Regions from separate parts of the Homo sapiens genome. Here region 1 is linked to region 2. The links are contacts of gene promoters, found by promoter capture Hi-C in human tissues and cell types (Jung and others, 2019). All regions are on one chromosome and are shown on one strand. Each heading gives the region's core, a stretch centred on a gene start or on the middle of the fragment in contact. The rest is flanking DNA. Distances are from core to core; before and after follow the strand shown.

Evidence for each region. The method cuts DNA at HindIII sites, captures the fragments that hold promoters and counts their contacts. A contact is called where the count stands out against the background at its distance.
Region 1: a contact is called between a fragment that was not itself captured here and the fragment with the promoter of CHST4 in region 2, in 1 of the 25 tissues and cell types used here (thymus).

What each region holds. Positions count from the first base shown.
Region 1 is chr16:71,367,051-71,370,645 of GRCh38, reverse strand. The region is part of intron 1 of CALB2 (calbindin 2); the gene reads right to left. It overlaps LOC105371332 (a long non-coding RNA gene), which reads left to right. Exons shown (of 5, transcript XR_933714.3): 4 at 1,729-1,807; 5 at 3,287-3,397. Among named protein-coding and RNA genes, the nearest start is that of CALB2, 10 kb to the right of the region's middle. RefSeq lists an enhancer at 3,006-3,300. The HindIII fragment of the contact is 3,725 bases long and covers 1-3,122 here.
Region 2 is chr16:71,524,501-71,528,116 of GRCh38, reverse strand. CHST4 (carbohydrate sulfotransferase 4) reads right to left here and starts at 1,691. Exons shown (of 2, transcript NM_001166395.2): 1 at 1,622-1,691. RefSeq lists an enhancer at 1,448-2,058. The HindIII fragment of the contact is 30,806 bases long and covers 1-3,616 here.

The DNA.
Region 1 (3,595 bases), core at 11-2,510, 160 kb after region 2:
GGGCTCAAGTGATCCTCCTGCCTCAGCCTCCCAAGTAGCTGGGATTACAGGTACCTGGCACCCAGGGATCTTAAAAAAAATATGGATATCTGGCCCCCACCTCTAGACTTTCTGATGCAATTTGTTTGGGGTGTGAACTAAGCACCATGATTTTTTTTTTTTTAACACTCCCAGGTGATTTCCTGTGCAGCAAAGTTTGAAAACCACTGACCTAACATCAAGTTCCAAATTTGATCTAAAGCCCTTGAGCAAGATTCCCGTAGAGGAGATTCAACTCGAATGGGAAGGGAGGTGGTAGCTTTCACCAAGGGCAAATGGAATTACAAACGCAACAGAGAAAATAAAGGAGCATTTACCCCAGCCTCTGTGAGGGGTTGTGGGGGGAGGCTTTTCCCAGCCTCTCCTCCTAGGGCCCCCTGAGAATTTAAATTCTTAATAAACTTAGAGGCACTCTCGAGTGAAGAATATGCCACAATAAATATTGTATGGCACGAATCACATGAGATAAATTATGTATTTTTGTCTGCAGGGAAAAGACATGATTGCAATGGGCTCGCAGAATGAGATTTGAGTTCCCTTTTATCCTAGGATGGGGTGGTTATCTTCCTTCTAGGATGTTTGTAAAGCTTCTTAGGAGAACTGGAATTTCAGAAGAGTGTGGTTCCTGTGAGGCCGGCTAAAGTAGGGGAGTGAGGGACAGGGAGATGGGCTTTCTAGGCAAAAAGACATCGTCTAGTTGATGATGCTCTGAGTTGGAAGAATGAGTAATTTTTCTCTTCCTGGTTACTCCCTGCAGCGATCTGGCTATTCTCCTATCACTGAGGTGCAATTTCTTCTCAACTGAGAAGGCAAAGTCACATTCTTCTCGGAGGCTTTGTAGAGTCAGACGGGGAGGTGGAAAGCTGAGCTCAGCCCTGGGTGCATCTGCAGCTTCCAGAAGCCCGAGGCTAGGGCAGGAGGTGGGGGCTCAGAGCTGGCACCACGAGTGCGTGTCATGGTTCAGTGAAGCAGAGGCCACAGGAGCCAGGGCTGGGCGGACACAGGAGCGAGTATATGTTTCATGAGTGTATCGGGAGGTGGCTGAAAGGAACTGGGTAGGGGAAGCCCGCAGAGCAGCATGGTATGTTTCCAAGAGCCGCCTCCACTTAGCTCTGAACAGGGTCCGTCATCCCTCTGTGGAGCCCTGTTTTGCACCAGGTCCTTCATGTTCTGCCATTTCTTCTCTGGCCCCTTCACCTACCATTTGGGGGGCGGCAGAGTGACTGGCCTTTCTTGCTGAGGCACCGACACCTGGTTCTTCTCCTCCCTCTGTCGTACCCAGATTAGAGGACACCACCTCTGTGAACCTCAGTTTCTTCTCCTGTGAAATGGGGACAATGATAGCACCCTCCTCATGCAGCTGCCATGAAGATTAAAGAGGATAATAATACACTCGCAGCGCTGGCCTGCAGCGAGCCTCAAACATGCCGGCGGACACTGCCATTATGGCTGCTGTTTGTGCTTCCCGCCCATGCTGCAAACACCTTGGCCCTGGGCTGCTTTCTTCAGGTTGGAAAGATTTAGGGGAGCAGAGGGAGGCTAGAGCAGGCAAGGCTAGCACGGAGCCCCGCCCCACTGAACGCTCTGAACCCAAAGAAGTAAAGTACAGATCTCTAGGGGCCATCTTTTCCTTGGAGTTTTTCTGGAACTTAGAATAAGTATTTATTTTTACTCCATCTTTTTTTCTAGAAAGGTTTGAAGGAGGTTTAACAACCTCAAGAAACTCAGACAATCATCCAGTGCCTCGCCCAGCAGGAAAGTGCTGAAGGTCAGTGGAATGTCTTTAACTTTTCAAAGCGCTTTTGCCGTCTTTCTTTGCTCCAGCAGATAATTTGAGCCCTCACTATGGGTAAGACCTGTGTGGGTTGCTGTGGGGGAAATGAACCCACACATAATCTTTCCAGACACACGGGCATGGCAGAGTAGAATCCTTTTCTGGTGACAGAAGACACTGAGGCACAGGACACAGAAGGCAAGCAACTTGCTCAGGACCACACAGCCAGGGAGGACCAGAACGGAAGTGTCCTAATTCCTGATCCAGGCTTAATTCACTCATTCATTCATTTGAGGAATTTTTTTATTTTTATTTTATTTTATTTTTAGACAGGGTCTGCTCTGTCACTCAGGTTGGAGTGCAGTGGCTGGATCACGGCTCAGTGCAGCCTAATGTCCTGGGTTCAAGCCGTCCTCCCACCTCAGCCTCCCAAGTAGCTTGGACGACGGGCACATGCCTGAATAATTTTTTGTTTGTTTGTTTTTGGTAGAGACAGGGTTTTGCCATGTTGCCCAGGCTGGTCTTTAAATCCTCCACCTGTCTTGGCCTCCCAAAGTGCTGGGATTACAGGCGTGAGCCACCGTGCCTGGACCATTGGAGGAACCTTTATTGAGCATCTGCATTGTGCAGGCACTGGAGGTGCAAAGGCCAGCTAGGTCCTGCCATGGTGGGGCTTATGCTGTAATGGGGTGTGGGTGGGGCAGGGGACAGATAATAAGCAAGGAAATGAATTTAAACATGGTGTTTCCAGTGTCGAGAGCAATGAAAGAATGATGGTGTCATAGAGTAGAGATCGACTTCCAGGGCTTCTTGGAAAGGATGAGCAGGGAAGACCTCCCAAGAAGCCTCAGCCTCTGGGAAGGGGGCAGAGAAAGGAAGGAGGAAAACTGGAGGCAGGGAAAGGGGTCCAGGAGCTAGAAGGGCAGCCCTGTGGAGAGAAGCCGCCTCTCTGAATTCAGCTTGTGCAGCACAGGCAGCAGGAGGTTCCCGGGGCAGGAGGAACCCCCCTCCCCACACTAGGAATTCCACTACCTCCCTCTGGGCACCTCAACAAAAGGCAGAAATGTGGTTCAATGCAGTAAGCCTTGATGTTTTGAACTGAGCCACTGTTCCACTTTGTGCCTGGTGCTCAGGGAGCTATCACCAAGTTTTAGATGTGGGCCCATTTCCCAAGAGCATCAATGGTCAGCCTGGGAGAGGCAGGCAGACAGGCAGCTGATGGCAGACAGTGAGGAACACAGGAGAGATCGGCAGGTGGCGCTGCAGGGCCCAGAAGGGACACTCCACACCCAGCCCTCGATTGTGGATGGCAAATGGCCTTCGCTGCTCTGGCTTCCCTCAAAGCAACTCCCCATCCATCTGCAGGAAGCCCTTATCACTAGAGGCTGGGGTAGAGGAGGGGCTGGTGCACACCCTTCTAGGATGACATCGGCACTGAGTGAATGGTCTGATGTTTCTATGACCCTCTTGCAGCGGGTGGGGTGACTGGTCACCAAGCAAGGCTCATGCGGATGGGCATCGATAAAGACATCGATAAAGACGTGGTTACCATGGCAACCATCACTTCTAACTTCTTATCAAACCACATCCTGTGAACATGAGGGAGCAGAGCCGAAGTGAGAGCCAGAGACCCTGCATCCTTCCTTATTCTACTCTTGCTACCATTCCGCACCACTACCGTGCCTCAGTTTCCCCCAATTTAAAGTGAGACAATACTTCTTTACCTTTCATCTGACCACGGACACTTGGGAAGCCATGCCTAGAGGAGGCTTCACCCCTCAG
Region 2 (3,616 bases), core at 442-2,941:
TTTAGTACAGACATGGTTTTGCCATGTTGGCCAGGCAGGTCTCGAACTCCTGACCTCAAGTGACCTCAGTCTCCTAATAGTGCTGTGATTACACCCATGAGCCACTGTGCCCAGCCAGGGGTCTTTTTAAAATTTAACCTGAGAGACTGTTTCAGGCCATGACAAGAAGTGGGGATCTAACATGCCTCATCATACCTCTCCAGCATTAACACCAACACAGACCTTAAGTCTGATAAGAAACATTTTACAACCTATTCTCTCTGAAGCCTGCTATCTGAAGGCTTCCTCTCAGTTGCAGTGAGCCGAGATCGCACCACTGCACTCCAGCCTGGGCGACAGACCCGTACTTTTTTCTTTTCTTTTTTCTTTTTTGAGATGGAGTTTTGCTCTTGTTGCCCAGGCTAGAGTGCAATGGCAGGATCTCGGCTCACTGCAGCCTCCCGGTTTCAAGCGATTCTCCTGCCTCAGCCTCCTGAGTAGCTGGGATTACAGGTGCCTGCCACCATGCCCAGCTAATTTTTTTGGTATTTTTAGTACAGACAGGGTTTCGCCATGTTGGCCGGGCTGGTCTTGAACTCCTGGCCTCAGGTGATCCACCTGCCTCAGCTTCCCAAAGTGCTGGGATTACAGGCGCGAGCCATCGCGCCTGGCTAGATGTATTTCTTAAATGTATTTGATTGAAGTCTCATGTCTCCCTAAAGTGTATAAAACCAAGCTGCACCCCGACCACCTTAGACACATGTTCTCAGGACCTCCTGAGGGCTGTGTCACCGGCCATGGTCACTCATATTTGGCTCAGAATAAATCTCTTCAAATATGTCACAGAGTCTGACTCTTTTCATCGACAATATTACATTTATTTTACACATAGAAAAGTATTTCAATTCCAATTAGAAGTTTCATACTTGTCCAAGGCCATGCAAGATAGACGTATCTTCTACCATAGCTGATATGTTGGCACCATAACTTAATCATATTGCACATGTGCGTGGTGTTCCACATTTTTAAAGCCCTTTTAGCTGCAATTATGATACTGATCGGTTAGATATTTTAGACAGTGATGAGACATTTCTTCATTTTTCAGAATAAATAAACTAAACTTTAATTGACTGGCTCATCCGGTATAAATAGCCTTTTCTGGATCAGAACCCAGGTTTTGGGGATCCCAGGGCTGAGAATTTTCAATGATCACACTGTCCCTCTCCTGAGCTAGAGAAAACCTACAGCTCCTTGCACCTCCTGTCTTCCACTCCCCAGCAGAAAACAGAGGAGAAGCTGCAGGAAGTACAGAAATTTGAGCTCCAAAGCCAGGATCTGAACGAGTCAGTTGGCACCAGGGGACCATCTACAAAATATACATCAGAACAGCCTGATCTGCTCTCTGGGCTCTTTTGGACCCATTTAGGGATAGAGCTAGTGGGGCTTGGGGGCTGCTGGTAAGCAGCTTGTGTTTTATTTTACCCAGAAAATTCCCCAGGTGATCTGATTTATCCCCTCTGCGCAAACCGCCTTCGCCACTGTAATCTCTAGCTTAGCTGCCAGAGGTTATCTGATACTCTTGCTCCAGCAGCTCTGGGTAATGGCTCTGCATTGGAGTCGTACACAGAAATTCTCTTCTTACCTTGTGGCTTGGGCTTCCCTGCTGCTTTTGAGAGGCTCACTGCTAGCCGGGCCATGCGCTTTTCTCCTCTGACTCACCAACTCCCCTCTTGGCTTCCTCCTCCTACTTGCTTTTGCATAACCGTCCCTACTCAGAGCACATTTCACTGTCCCTCCCTTCTGCCAAAAACAAAAAAGGACCCACCTTGCAAGACGGGCTTGAGAAAGCACTCGCTCCCAGGAAGCTGTGAAAGTAACAGCTTTAACACTGCTGAGACTCAAGGGGTGGGGAGACTGCTTGAGGTGGGCTGGGAGAAGCAAATGAGGAAGCATTTTCCCCCAGACTGGAGGCATCCTGGCATGTTGACTACTGAAAGGCAACTGTGAAGGTCAACTCCCTATGGGCAGAGTGGGGAGGTGGGGAAAAAGAGAAAGAGAGAGAGAGAGACCCAGGGAGCTAGTAGATGAGGCTGATAGGGAAATTTCATGACACTTACAAGCCGAAAGGCTACAAAATCTCAAACCTGATTTTTAGACCTTGTTCTTATCTCCAAGGAGAAAATGTGAAAGTTATTTCTTGCATTACACCTGCCTGCTCACTCCACCCTGGGTCTAGGGAGGTAACATTTCTCAGCCTCTGTGTTGTATTCAATATCTTCACCCTTGCTACAAGAGGTAATAAATATTTTCTGGGAGGACATAGATGTACTGGCTTGGTGGTACAGGAGAAAAAAAAGTCCCCTTTAAGAAAAAAAGAAACAAATTATCATTAAAGATTACAACCTCTCCCTTGCTGTGTGCCCTTGGGCAAATCACTTACCTACTCCGTGCTACTTTACACGGTTGTCATGAGTCTGAAACAATGGATGCCCGTGAATAAACGTAAATTGTGGTGGAGAATGGAAGCCTCAGACTTTCAAGTCCAAGATCTTGCCGGGCAAGTCATACCACCTCTTTGAGCCCTAGAATATCATCGGTGTTAAATAAGGGTAACAATATCTATTTTACAGTATTGTTGTGAATGTTAGGATTAATGCGTATGAAGCTCCTAACACAATAATATGACAATATAAGAGTTAAAAAGTGGTTGAATAATAATACCTTCCCACCGCCACCCACCCCCGCAACTCAGCTGCCACTTCCTTTTCCAGACCTTGGAAGAGAGAGAGAGCAGGCAGGGAGTTGTGTGAGCTTTGGGATGATCTTTGCCGATTTCCATCAGCTAAGTCCGCTAAGCACAAATGACAAGAACCTGTGGTGCTTGCCTTGACTTGATTTCAATTGTGTGGCTCTTCCTCCCTTCCTGTTTCTCTCTGGCAGAGAGAAGAGAAATTTCTCTTCCTCCAGTGAAGGACTTTGGGCAGAGGTGTAACTGGAAGCACTAGAACTGGGCAGTCGGTAGTTTTGCTTTTATGCACAAAGAGATGATTCAGGTGCTGGCACGACACAGCGAGATGGCACAAGGCTTCATCATGCTACTCAGAATAGTATGTAATAAATGAACTGTTTATTTCTGTAATTTTCCCATTTAATATTTTCAAATCGTGGTTGATGATGAGTAGTTAAAACTGGGAAACAAAACCGTGGATAAAGAGGGGACTCCTGTAGTTTTATTCCAGCCCTTTCTAACATTCTTTTCGTGTTTTTCCAGCGCCTTCCCAAATATAGTGAGGTCACTCAAATACACCATAACCCCAAGTAATTCAGATCACCTGCCATCTTTCCCGTGCTAGGAATTCATGCTGGCAGAATGCCAAGCAGCTGAAGAAAGGCATCCTCTGGTCACTAGTATACGGTGGTGACCAGCATGTTCAGATACTGGACTTCCAAGGGTCTACCACATTCCACAGCACTGGGAAGAAATTTGAATGCTGGTGTCTGATATCCAGGCCTTCTTGTGGAAGTCCTGCAGCCCACGTCTCTAAGGCAGCACTGTCCAATAACAGTCTCTGTGATGATGGAAATGTTCCATATCTGCACTATACAGTAGCCACTGTCCACCTGAAACGTGCTAGTG